Linked DNA regions of Homo sapiens: region 2 is linked to region 1. The links are contacts of gene promoters, found by promoter capture Hi-C in human tissues and cell types (Jung and others, 2019). All regions are on one chromosome and are shown on one strand. Each heading gives the region's core, a stretch centred on a gene start or on the middle of the fragment in contact. The rest is flanking DNA. Distances are from core to core; before and after follow the strand shown. Region 1 holds the start of MPO (myeloperoxidase). Region 2 has its middle 53 kb from the start of AKAP1-DT.

Region 1 (6,154 bases), core at 1,958-4,457:
AGGTCTGCGAGAATGTTGCATCCTGGGCCTCTGCTTGGCCCACCAGCCTCACCCTGTCCACCCTCTCCCTGTGTTGGAACTGAGTGAAGCCGACAGTGTCATTCTCTGGGCCCAGAATGCTCTTCCTCTGTGTCTACTTGGTCAGCTTTGAGACATTCTTCAAGACAGTCTCCAGAATCAATTCCTCAAGAAAGCCTTCACTGACCTCCCCCAGTTGATCCAAGTGCTGCTCTTCGCTGCTCCCTAAGGTCCCTGCATTGGTTCTGGGGGTGCCATTTGTTTGCCTTTCTGCTCCCCTCTGTGAGCTCCTTGAGGATAAGGCTCATGCTTTGCTCAGTGGAGAATGCTCAATGCCCAGCGCAGCACCTGACAAGGGCTCAGTAAATACTTGTTGAAGGAATCATTGAATGACAAGGGCTCAGTAAATACTTGTTGAAGAAATCATTGAATGAAAGGTCAGGAACAGGTGTCCAGAGGCTACTGGGTAAAGAGCACTGGTTTGGAAGTCAGGAGACTGGGCATGGAGATTATTCTGAACTGTGTCACACTGCTGACCTTGGTCAAGTCGTTTCCTTCCCTGGGCTCCTTCTTTCTCAGCTCTACAATAAGGGGCTTGCATTAAATATCTCTCCCCTGTTGAGCCTTGACAATTCCCTTAAAAGAGCGAAAGGACACTCAAGCATACTCAAGGTTGACAAGGGTGACAGGGGACAGGTGCTCTCATGCATGGCTGATGGGAGGATGAGGTAAAATCTTCAGCAGGCCATTTGACTATCAATATTAAAAAGCCCTAAAACACGCATACCCAAATACGCAGGAATTTTACTTCTTGCCTAAGGAAATAATTGACGATGTGGCGAGAGATTTAACTCCATGGATGCTTATCCTAGTACTACTTATAATAATGAAAATCAGAAACAACTCTAAGTATCTAATGAGATAGAATTAGTTAATAAATCATATAAAATAGTTATATGAAATATTATACAGACATAAAAATGAAGTAAACCTGTATTTATTGACACAGGGAGATGCTCAGACTAAAATTGTTAAGTACCGAAAGTAGATGGTAAAACAATATTTAAAGTTCTTCTTATCAATATTTAAAAATATATATTATGTTTACATATAGGATATCAAATTCTTAAATGAGGTATTGGTGAGTGGTGGGATTATGGGCAATTATTTTCCTTCCTATTGTTTATTTATGTGAAGACAATGATAAACCTTGAAAGAAAAAAGTACCCACAATCTCACTTGATGATGAGTAATTTTGATTTATTTTTATTTTTGCATACTCGTGTTCTCAAACTTTTCATCAGTGAAAATTATATTACTTAAAGGATTGAAAAATCATTTCCAAAAGCCTCTAAAATTCTAGAGCTTGATTCACAAAGAGCCACTCGACCAACTTCACACACAGCAAGTCACTGGCAGGGCAAAAGCTTGGTTCCCCTTCTCAGCAGGGGACAGAATCCCTGGACACACTGGGAAGATATTCTGGGTGTTGCTGTCCCTTGTCCCTTGGCCAAGAGGTGGTCTGGGCATAGAAGACAAGAGTGGGCCGGGCGCGGTGGCTCACGCCTGTAATCCCAACAGTGGGTGGATCAGGAGGAGGTCAGGAGTTTGAGACCAGCCTGGCCAACATGTTGAAACCCCATCTCTACTAAAAATACAAAATATTAGCCGGGCATGGTGGCGGGCGCCTGTAATCCCAGCTACTTGGGAGGCTGAGGCAGGAGAATTGCTTGAACCCAGGAGGCAGAGGTTGCAGTGAGCCGAGATTGCACCACTGTACTCCAGCTCCGCCAACAGTGAGAGACCCTGTCTCAAAAAAAAAAAAAAAAAAAAAGAGTGGGTGGCGGGAAGGTGGCTGAAGGTAGGAGGGGGAACCTAAATGGGACATGGGAGGCATGGTTGGCACGAGCTCAGCCTGACCAGGGCCCAGAGAGGTAGACTGATTCAGTCAAAAGTCGTAGTACTTTTCCTGCTGAGATTGGTGGCCCTTTTGCTGGGCTTTCTCAAGCAAGAAATATCCTCTTCTGTTTCAGAATTATTCTGAATCATTAACCCAAGTCCTCCCAACTGCACTGATCCTGTCCCAGAGAGGCCCTGGGCTGCATCACCTAACTGATCACTAACCACAACCAGTTCTGCTCTCTCCTGGTTCCTGAAATCCAGGAGCAGATGGTGGTGGGGAGGAGGAGTTTGGAGACAGCCCTCTACCAGAAGCCAAGAAGAAAGGGGAGTGAGGAGGGATAGAGGAAGTTATCTTGGTCCTGCGCCCACAGTCCCCAGGGTCCTCCTTCCTGTGAAGCCCAACGGTCTCCAGCCAGATTTCCTGTCCCCTTAGCCCCACCAAGAACCAGAGGCTGCCCATTGGGTGGCTGTTGGATGCAGGTTACTGTTGGAGTGGGGGATGGCCACCTGAGGCCAATTGGGTCATCTTTACTCCAGGTCTCCCTTTCATCCTCCTGTCTTCCCTGGGGGCACTCTATTCCCTGCAATTCCTTGGGCTACCAGTTCCTGACTTTTGTTCCTTTCAAAGGAACCCTGGATAACCAGTGTAACCAGAATTTCAGAGGGGTTAGTTGTGTGTATCCCCTGGGGACAAGCACTGGTATAGGCACACAATGGTGAGCTGAGAAATCTTGGGCTGGTAGTGCTAAATTCAAAGGCTGGGGACAGGCTGGGGCCAGTGGCTCATGCCTGTAATCCCAGCACTTTGGGAGGCTGAGGCGGGTGGATCACTTGAGGTCAGGAGTTCAAGACCAGCCTGGCCAACATGGTGAAACCCTGTATCTACTAAAAATACAAAAATTAGCTTCTTGCCTAAGGAAAAATACAAAAATTACTTCTTGCCTAAGGAAATAATTGATGATGTGGCTAGAGGCTAGGGCGTGGTGGCGGGCACCTGTAATCCCAGCTACTCGGGAGGCTGAGGCAGAAGAATCGCTTGAACCATTGCACATCAGCCTGGGCAACAGAGCAAGATAACGTCTCAAAAAAAAAAAAAAAAAAGGCTGGGGACAATGCTGGCCCCTCCTTTCCTGCCCCTTCCCCCCATTTCAGGGGCCCCTCTGTGTGTACCTTCCAACCCCAGTGGGGGAGGAGAAAGAGTTCAGTCTCCAGGATCAGACCTTCCTCTACCTCACCCCACCCCCAGCTTAGAGGACATAAAAGCGCAGATTGAGCTAAGAGGAGCTGACAATATCAGGTGAGCTGTGGAGGTGGGGTCCTTGGAAGCTGGATGACAGCAGCTGGCAAGGGGATAAGAGAGCAGTGAGCCCCTCCCTCAAGGAGGTCTGGCTTTATCCATAGACAGGGCCCTCTGAGGTGGGGCTGAGGTACAAAGGGGGATTGAGCAGCCCAGGAGAAGAGAGATGGGGGTTCCCTTCTTCTCTTCTCTCAGATGCATGGTGGACTTAGGACCTTGCTGGGCTGGGGGTCTCACTGCAGAGATGAAGCTGCTTCTGGCCCTAGCAGGGCTCCTGGCCATTCTGGCCACGCCCCAGCCCTCTGAAGGTGCTGCTCCAGGTAACAGTTCCCAAGGTGGGAGAAGATGGTGTGTTGGGGTGGTTGTGTTCCAGAGACCCCTTTTCTCAGAGCAGGCCTTCCTAGCTCTGGGGCCTGATAGGGGGTTGGGGCCCATTCCTGACTTTGTGATCCCTGCTCTGGGCAGCTGTCCTGGGGGAGGTGGACACCTCGTTGGTGCTGAGCTCCATGGAGGAGGCCAAGCAGCTGGTGGACAAGGCCTACAAGGAGCGGCGGGAAAGGTGGGGCACGAGGCACTGCCCAGCTCTGGGCAAGGATGTCCCAGGCCTTTCAGAGAAGCAGCAGGCAGCAGGGAGCTTGAAGGTGGGAGAGGGGGACTATGGGGACCCATGTGGACTCCCTTTCTGTCTGTCTGTCCCTGTGTTTCTGGATGGGAGAACAGCTTAAAAGCCATCCTTCCCAAAGCCTTGCCTCTGTCTGGACACCCAGGTCCATATCCTTTTTATAAAAGGAAGCCTTCCTCCCACCCGTGGGCCTGCCTGCATGGTCCTGCATGTCTGCCCCTGGGCTGGGGCTCTGCTGGGTGGGTCTGTATCCCTTCTCTGGCCCTCACTCCTCCTTTCTCCAAGCAGCATCAAGCAGCGGCTTCGCAGCGGCTCAGCCAGCCCCATGGAACTCCTATCCTACTTCAAGCAGCCGGTGGCAGCCACCAGGACGGCGGTGAGGGCCGCTGACTACCTGCACGTGGCTCTAGACCTGCTGGAGAGGAAGCTGCGGTCCCTGTGGCGAAGGCCATTCAATGTCACTGGTACTGTTGCCCATCACACCCCAGGTCCCTGCTCCACTAGTGACTCCTCCTAGGGACCCCAGCCGTCTCTCAGTGATCCCCTCAACTTCTTCCTCCAGGGAGTCTCAGGAGTCTCCAGGGCTCCTCAGCCTCAGGTTGCCTGGGATAGGAAGTGAGGCGGCTCAGCTCCCCCATTGTTCTTTCCCCCGGCAGATGTGCTGACGCCCGCCCAGCTGAATGTGTTGTCCAAGTCAAGCGGCTGCGCCTACCAGGACGTGGGGGTGACTTGCCCGGAGCAGGACAAATACCGCACCATCACCGGGATGTGCAACAACAGGTGCGGCTGGCTGGGGGTGGCTGCAGGAACCGGGCTCAGAGAGGCGTCCCGGACGCCACAAGCCTCCCGGTGTCAGCGCCCTGTCCTCCCCTGCAGACGCAGCCCCACGCTGGGGGCCTCCAACCGTGCCTTTGTGCGCTGGCTGCCGGCGGAGTATGAGGACGGCTTCTCTCTTCCCTACGGCTGGACGCCCGGGGTCAAGCGCAACGGCTTCCCGGTGGCTCTGGTGAGCGCCGGCGGGCAGAGGGGGCGAGGCCCGGCCACGCGGTGCGCGGACCCAGGCGCCAGCTGATCTCCGTGTCCCGCAGGCTCGCGCGGTCTCCAACGAGATCGTGCGCTTCCCCACTGATCAGCTGACTCCGGACCAGGAGCGCTCACTCATGTTCATGCAATGGGGCCAGCTGTTGGACCACGACCTCGACTTCACCCCTGAGCCGGCCGCCCGGGCCTCCTTCGTCACTGGCGTCAACTGCGAGACCAGCTGCGTTCAGCAGCCGCCCTGCTTCCCGCTCAAGGTGGCCCTGCTTCCCGCCCACTGCCTGGGTTGGGAGAGGGGAGATTGTTTCTGGAAGGGGCCATCTCCCTTCTGTGCCCAGGTTTCCTTTCCCAGACGCTGAGGAAGGCTGGCCCTGCCTCCCTTGTGTCCACAGCACTGGCTGCTCAGCTATGACCTGTCTCCTTCCTGCGCCTGGGCTCAGCCAGCTGGCAGCCAGGGCCGTCCATTTGCTCACTGCCTCTGGCAGGCCAAGGGAGAGAGGGTTGTTCCTCCTTGGCTGACAGGAGTCCTGTTGGTGGAATCACTGGCTCTTTGTTAGGTTGGGAGAGGGTTCTGGGAGGAGACCTTCTCAGTGCCCCCCAAGCCTCCATGCTCAGTCCTGTTTCCGCCCCACTGAGAGGGCAGCCCCAACCCCCATCACACAGAAAGAGAGAGCCTGGGGGTCTGGTGGGTGCCGTGGGACAGGGCTGGGAGTGGGCAGGGTGGTCGAGGCACTGCTGAGTAGGGAAGGAGGAGGAGAGAAAGGAGAGAGCGCCTGAGAGAGGGAGAGACAGACAGGAGAATGTCAGGGCCAGAGGGAGAGCAGGCACAGCAGAGAGAAGGGGAGAGAGACGGGCGACGCTTTAGTGAGGAGGGATCCGAGGCCTGGCGGTGCCCAGACCCAGGGGTTGCCCAGGTTCCCAGTTCAGTGTTCTGCTCATTAACCCTGCACCTCAGAGGCTGTTGCTGATGGCGCCCTAGGCAGCGATCCCTTTCGGGCCTCCGGAGGCCTCTCTGCAGGTTGAGGGTACCAGAGGTCCTGAGGGCAGGGGGAGATCCAGTTCTGCCTGGGCACCTTCCTTGCCCTCGGTGAGCCAGTCTAGCCTCTCTCTGTGCCTCAGATCCCGCCCAATGACCCCCGCATCAAGAACCAAGCCGACTGCATCCCGTTCTTCCGCTCCTGCCCGGCTTGCCCCGGGAGCAACATCACCATCCGCAACCAGATCAACGCGCTCACTTCCTTCGTGGACGCCAGCATGGTGTACGGCAGCGAGGAGCC
Region 2 (6,420 bases), core at 3,912-6,411, 1.3 Mb after region 1:
TAATCTGGGGTCAGTTTGGGGAAAAGAAGAAATCTTGCAGAAACTTGTCAGGACATATCACATGTAGGTTGGAAGAGGGACATTGACAGGGGCAATCTAGTCTAGGGTGAGTTCTGTATGCCAGAGGACACCAGACTAAGGTATGTCACTGATGATGCTATTTAATTCCAGAGGGAGTCAGTTGGATGCAGCTCTTGGTTTTGAGTCTGGCCCTAATGCTCTCAGCTGACAAATTCCTTTTTCTTCTTTTGAGGCAGGGTCTCACTGTCACCCAGGCTAGATGCAGCGGTGCCATCACAGCTCACGTGGTCCTCCCACCTCAGCCTCCCAAGTAATTAGGACTACAGGCATGCACCACCATACTTGGCTAATTTTTGTTTTTTTTTTTGTAGAGGCAGGGTTTCACCGTGTTGCCCAGGCTTGTCTATAACTCCTTGGCTCAAGCGATCCTCCCACCTTGGCCTCCCAAAGTGCTGGGATTCCAGGCATGAGCCACTGTGCCCAGCTTGGCTGACAAATTCTAATGGCAGAAAAGATCAAATACCAAGATTGCTTGTAAACATCACAGCAAAATATTGCACTTACTTCACTGCCCCCTGAAGTGACCACATTTTTCTTTTGTTTTGAGACAGGGTCTCACTCTGTCACCCAGGTTGCAGTGCAGTGGCATGATCATAGCTCACTGCAGCCTCAACTTCCTGGGCTCAAGTGATTCTCCCACCCCACACTCTTAAGTAACTGGAACTACAAGCATGCACCACCATGCCTGGCATTTTTTTTATTTTTATTTTTATTTTTATTTTTATTTGTAGAGATAGGATCTCACTATATTGCCCAGGCTGGTCTAGAACTCCTGGGCTCAAATGATCCTCCCACCTTGGCCTCCCAAAGTGCTGAGGTTACATGTCTGAGCCATTGTACCCAGTCAGTGACCACTTTTGAGAAACAAAAATACAAATTCCCAATCCTAACATATAGATCTGAGCCCCAAAGCATCTGTGTCTTCACCAGATTTGATTTACTTTAAGTACATTGTTTAAAAAAAATTAAAATAAATAGAGAGAGGGTCTCCCTATGTTGCCCAGGCTGGTCTTGAACTCCTGAGCTCAAGCGATCCTCCATGTTGGCCTCCCAAAGGGCTGGGATTACAGGTGCGAGCCACTGCATCTGGCTTTAACCAAGTACATTCGAACACATGTTCTTTTAATTTAGGGTTTTGGGGTTTTGTTTGTTTTTTTTTTTTCTTTGCTTTTTTACATTGGTATAGTTATTTTTAAATATTTTCTCAGCAGTTGCTTTTTCCTAATTCAGATGAAAACAGGGCCTGGCTTGGGCTTTAGCCAATTAAAACAGGCTATGCTTCTACGAGCAGAGTTAAATGTGTTCCCAGAGAGTTGCCAGTGCCACTTTATTTTTGGTTACAGTTCTCTCAAGAGGACCTTTTAATAGCTCTTGAAGTAGGGGCAGTAATCCTTGGAAACAAGACAAACCAGTTTTCTCCCCTCTACCCCACAACTCCTTTTTGCCTTTACACTTGAAGCAACTAAATTAGAAGTTGGACGTCACGAATCCTATAGTTTTACTTGAAATTTCCTGCTGCTGACACTAATGTTTTCTTTTCTGTTAGAATCAGGAACACTTAAAAAGTCAAACCTCCTCGTGACCTGATCTCAAAGTACATTTGAAATTTTTTTTTTTTTTTTTTTTTGAGACGGAGTTTTGCTCTTGTTGCCCAGGCTGGAGTGCAGTGGCACGGTCTCGGCTCACTGCAATCTCCGCCTCCCAGGTTCAAGTGATTCTCCTGCCTCACCCTCCTCCTGAGTAGCTGGGATTACAGGCACCTGCCAGCACACCCAGCTAATTTTTGTATTCTTAATAGAGACGGGGTTTGACCATGTTGGCCAGGCTGGTCTCGAACTCCTGACCTCAGGTGATCTGCCAGCTCGGCCTCCCAAAGTGTTGGGATTACAGGCATGAGCCACCGTGCCCGGCCTGTAATGTTTTTTTCCCATGGCAACATTTCTCAGCTACTCTGGGCTTATGAAGAAGAGTATAACAATGCCTGTCCCAGTTTTAAAACCACATTGTATTTAGTCAGAATTAGGCATGGCTGTAAGTGGTAGAAAACCCAAACCAACAGTAGCTTAAGACAAAAATTTATTTCCATGTAAAGAGAGAAAAGGAGTACAAAGGTGGAATGGTGGCTCCAGTCCTCAAAATCCTCGGGGACCTCGGCTCATTCTAGCATATCTTCCTACCATGATCCCAAATGGTTGCATTCACATTCCAGCCAGCAAAATAAAAGAGGGTGAAAGGGAACAAAAGGTACACCAAAGGGGACGGTTTCCAGCTGCTGCCAGAACACTTCTGTTTATATCCCGGTGGCCAGAACGTAGTCACGTGGCCACACTTAACTGCTGGGAAATGTAGTATTTTTTTTTTTTTTTCTGGATCGCTGTGTGCGCAGTTAAAAATTCTGCCTCTATGCTATACACCCTAGGGCCTATGGTCTTAAAATTTACCAATTTCTATCAATTTTGCCTTGAGAATTTGAAACACCTCTTGAGATTACTAAATAACAATATAAGGTGGTATAAAATCAGTATCAGAAATACCCCCACTCTTTATAATATTTATACAACATTTTACCAGAATTTTGCTTTTGGGAGTCCATAGTAATTAAATAACTCTAAAACCAGAAAAAGCTTTAAGCAAAATAATGTTCATCACAGTTATTTATAATCAGAAAAACTGAAATGACACTTTGAGAGGCCCAGGTGGGCGATTGCTAGAGCCCAGGAGTTTGAGATCAGTCTGGGCAACATGGTGAAACCCTGTCTCTACAAAAAAAATTTAAAAAATAAGCCAGGCATGGTGGTGCACACTTGTAATCCCAGCTACTTGGGAAGCTGAGGTGAGAAGATCACATGAGCCAGGGATGTCGAGGTTGCAGTGAGCCAAGATGGCACCACTGCACTCCAGCTGGGTGACAGAATGAGACCCTGTCTGAAAAAAAAAAAAAAAAAGAAAAGAAAAACTGAAATTTGAATAAATGTCAAAATATGGAGGACTGGTCAGATGAAGTGTAGAACATTTTCTTAATGGAATATTATGTATCTGTTAAAAAATGATATTTACAAGGCCAGACACAGTGGCTCAGGCCTGTAATCCCAGCCCTTCAGGAGGCCAAGGCAGGAGGGTCACTTGAGGCCAGGAGTTCAACACCAGTCTGGGAAACAAAATGAGACTTTGTCTCTACAAAAAATTGAAAAATTAGCGGGGTGTGGTGGTGGCACCTGTAGTCCCAGCTATGCAGGAGGCTGAGGCAGAAGGATCACTTGAGCACAGAGGTTCAAGGCTGCTGTGAGCTATGACCATACCACTGCACTCTGTTCTCCAGCTTGGACAACAGAGCAAGACCTTCTCTCTTTAAAAAAAAATTATACTGACAAAGAACCCACAGTAACATAGATAAATTCTTATAATGCCCGTTAAATAAAAAATATAGGGATATGAATTAAGCCAAATGACTTTTTTGGGTAATGAGACTTTTAATAACTATTTTCCTACATTTCTTTATTTTCTAAATTTTGTTACTATTACACTTATTATTTTATTAGAAATAAAAAATATTGCTGGGCGTGGTGGCTCATGCCTGTAATCCCAGCACTTTGGGAGGCCAAGACGGGTGGATCACCTGAGGTTAGGAGTTTGAGACCGGCCTGGCCAACATGGTGAAAACTGTCTCTACTAAAAATATAACATTAGCTGGTTGTGGTGGCACATGCTTGTAATCCCAGCTACTCTGGAGGCTGGGGCAGAAGAATTGCTTGAACCCGGGAGGCAGAGGTTGCAGTGGACCGAGATGGCGCCATGGCACTCCAGCCTCGGCAACAAGAGTGAAACTCCATCACAAAGAAGGAAAAATAAAATAAAAAATATCCTATCCTCTAGTCTCTCTAGTTACCTACACTTTACCCATCTTTAGGTACCTACACTCTACCCATCTCTAGATACCTATACTCTACCCATCTCATAGAGCTCAGTTTAATCTGACCTCCTGTCCAAAAGCTTTTCTGGCCATTCCCTCTCTTCTGCATTATTGCTGACACCACTTGTAATGGGAAGTCATTTCTTTTTTTTTTTTTCTTTTTTTTTGGAGCGGGGGAAGAGCCTCACTTAGTTGTCCAGGCTGGAGTATAGTGGCATGATCGTGGCTCACTACCTTGACCTCCCAGGCTCAAGCGATTCTCCCACGTCAGCCTCCTTGAGTAGCTGGGACTATAGGTGCTCACCACCATGCCTGGCTAATTTTAAAAATTTTTTGTAGAAATGGGGTCTCCCTATGTTGCCCAGGCTGGTCTTGAACTCCTAGACTTAAGCAATCCACCTGCCTCAGCCTTCCAAAGTGTTGAGATTACAGATGTGAGCCACCGCGCCTGGCAAAACTCTTTTTTTTTTTTTGTCTTGCCAGCATCAGGCAGAATCCTCTGATGAGAAGCTATTGGGGCCTCAATGAGGTTATACCTTTCCTCTCTCTCCTCCTTGGTAGATACAGAGTAGTCCTGTAGACCCACTAATCAGATGCTCCAGCCCAGGAATTTGAATTGGTGGAAATAAATTTGTAGTCTACGTGGGCTTTGGATATTTGATGATACTAAGATATTTTTCACTTGGGGGGTAGTAGGGGAGTGATGATGGTATTATGGTTGTTTTTAAATTTTATTTTAAAAATGTAGGTGTTCAAGCCCAGCAGAAATGTCCTATCTCCCCATATATTGGAACCTAATTGCCTATGGGATAGTACTAAAGAAGTGGGGCTAGGGGCCAGGGGCAGTGGCTCACACCTGTAATCCCAGCACTTTGGGAGGCTGAGGCAGGTGGATCACCTGAGGTCGGGAGTTTGAGACCAGCCTGACCAACATGGAGAAAGCCCATCTCAACAAAAAATTAGCCAGGCATGGTGGAGCATGCTTGTAATCCCAGCTATTCTGGAGGCTGAGGCAGAAGAATCACTTGAACCCCAAAAGCAGAGGTTGTGGTGAGCTGAGATCGTGCCATTGCACTCCAGCCTGGGCAACAAGAGTGAAACTCCATCTCAAAAAAGAAAAAGAAAAAGAAATGGGACTGGCACAAGTGCCTCTTGCCTGTAATCTCAGCACTTTGGGCGGCCGAGGTGGGAGAATTGCTTGAAGCCAGAAACTTGAGACCAGCCTAGTCAAAATAGTGAGACCCTCTACAAAAAAATAATTAAAAAAAAAAAGAAATAGGGCCTTTAGGAGTGGTTAATGGGAGCGGAACCCTCATGAAAGGGCCCTCACCAGACACCAAACCTGCTGGCATCTTGATTTTGCACTTTCCAGACTCCAGAACTATGAGGAATAAATTTCTGTCATTTATAAATGCCCTAGTCTAAGGTAATTTTGTTATAGCAGCCGGAAAGAACTAAGACACTATGTAGCTTCAATGACACCAAACACAAGGCATTTAGAATAAAAAGGGTTTTCTTCTTCACAACGAAAGGAAAAACTCAGTACTTCACTTGTGACACCAGATGTGTGTGTGTAGCAGGGGTTCCTATACCAAGCAATTCTCCAATTCTCTGGAGATACCAGCTGGGTATCCTACAATTCAATTCAGTTCTGACATGATCTATCTGAAGTTAGTACCTACCCCACAGTCGGTTGCCAATCAAAAGTCCAGCTTGTCACCTGGTGCTTCTGACAGGCTATGAGTCAGAGGGTCCCATGATCCCTTTCTTGAGTTTAATCATTTGCTAAAACAGCTCACAGAACTCAGGTAATGTTTGTTAGTCCATTCTCACATTGCTATAAAGAAATACCTGATTGGGAGGCCGAGGTGGGCGGATCACGAGGTCAGGAGATCGAGACCATCCTGGCTAACACGGTGAAACCCCATCTCTACTAAAAATACAAAAAATTAGCCAGGCGTGGTGGTGGGCGCCTGTAGTCCCAGCACTTCGGGAGGCTGAGGCAGGAGAATGGCATAAACCCTGGAGGCAGAGCTTGCAATGAGCCGAGATCGCACCACTGCACTCCACCCTGGGCAACAGAGTGAGACTCCGTCTCAAAAAAAAAAAAAAAAAGAAATACCTGAGACTGGGTAATGTGTAAAGAAAAGAGGTTTAATTGGCTCATGGTTCTGCATGTTATACAGGTAGCATGGTGCTGGCATCTGCTCGGCTTCTTGGGAGGCCTCAGGAAACTTACAGTCATGGTGAAGGTGAAGGGGGAGCAGGCACCTCACATGGCCAGAGCAGGAGCAAGAGAGAGACTGAGGTGCTGTGAGAGGTGTTTGAACCAGAACGACTCCATCTTGAATAGGGACTGGATGAAATAAGGCTGAGACCTTCTGGGCTGCATTCCCAGGAGGTTAAGGCATTCTTAGTCAGAGGATGAG

What was found. Contacts are between HindIII fragments. The study calls those that stand out against the background at their distance.
Region 2: a contact is called between a fragment that was not itself captured here and the fragment with the promoter of MPO in region 1, in 1 of the 25 tissues and cell types used here (lymphoblastoid cells).

The regions. Positions count from the first base shown.
Region 1 is chr17:58,277,988-58,284,141 of GRCh38, reverse strand. It overlaps MPO (myeloperoxidase), which reads left to right and starts at 3,207. Exons shown (of 12, transcript NM_000250.2): 1 at 3,207-3,537; 2 at 3,683-3,776; 3 at 4,128-4,303; 4 at 4,496-4,619; 5 at 4,716-4,845; 6 at 4,928-5,134; 7 at 5,997-6,154. The coding sequence starts at 3,384. RefSeq lists promoters at 1,927-2,127, 2,173-2,398, 2,283-2,684, 3,077-3,217, 2,623-3,217 and enhancers at 2,257-2,274, 4,859-5,548. The HindIII fragment of the contact is 18,673 bases long and covers 431-6,154 here.
Region 2 is chr17:57,028,490-57,034,909 of GRCh38, reverse strand. No RefSeq gene overlaps it. Among named protein-coding and RNA genes, the nearest start is that of AKAP1-DT, 53 kb to the left of the region's middle. The HindIII fragment of the contact is 3,545 bases long and covers 3,389-6,420 here.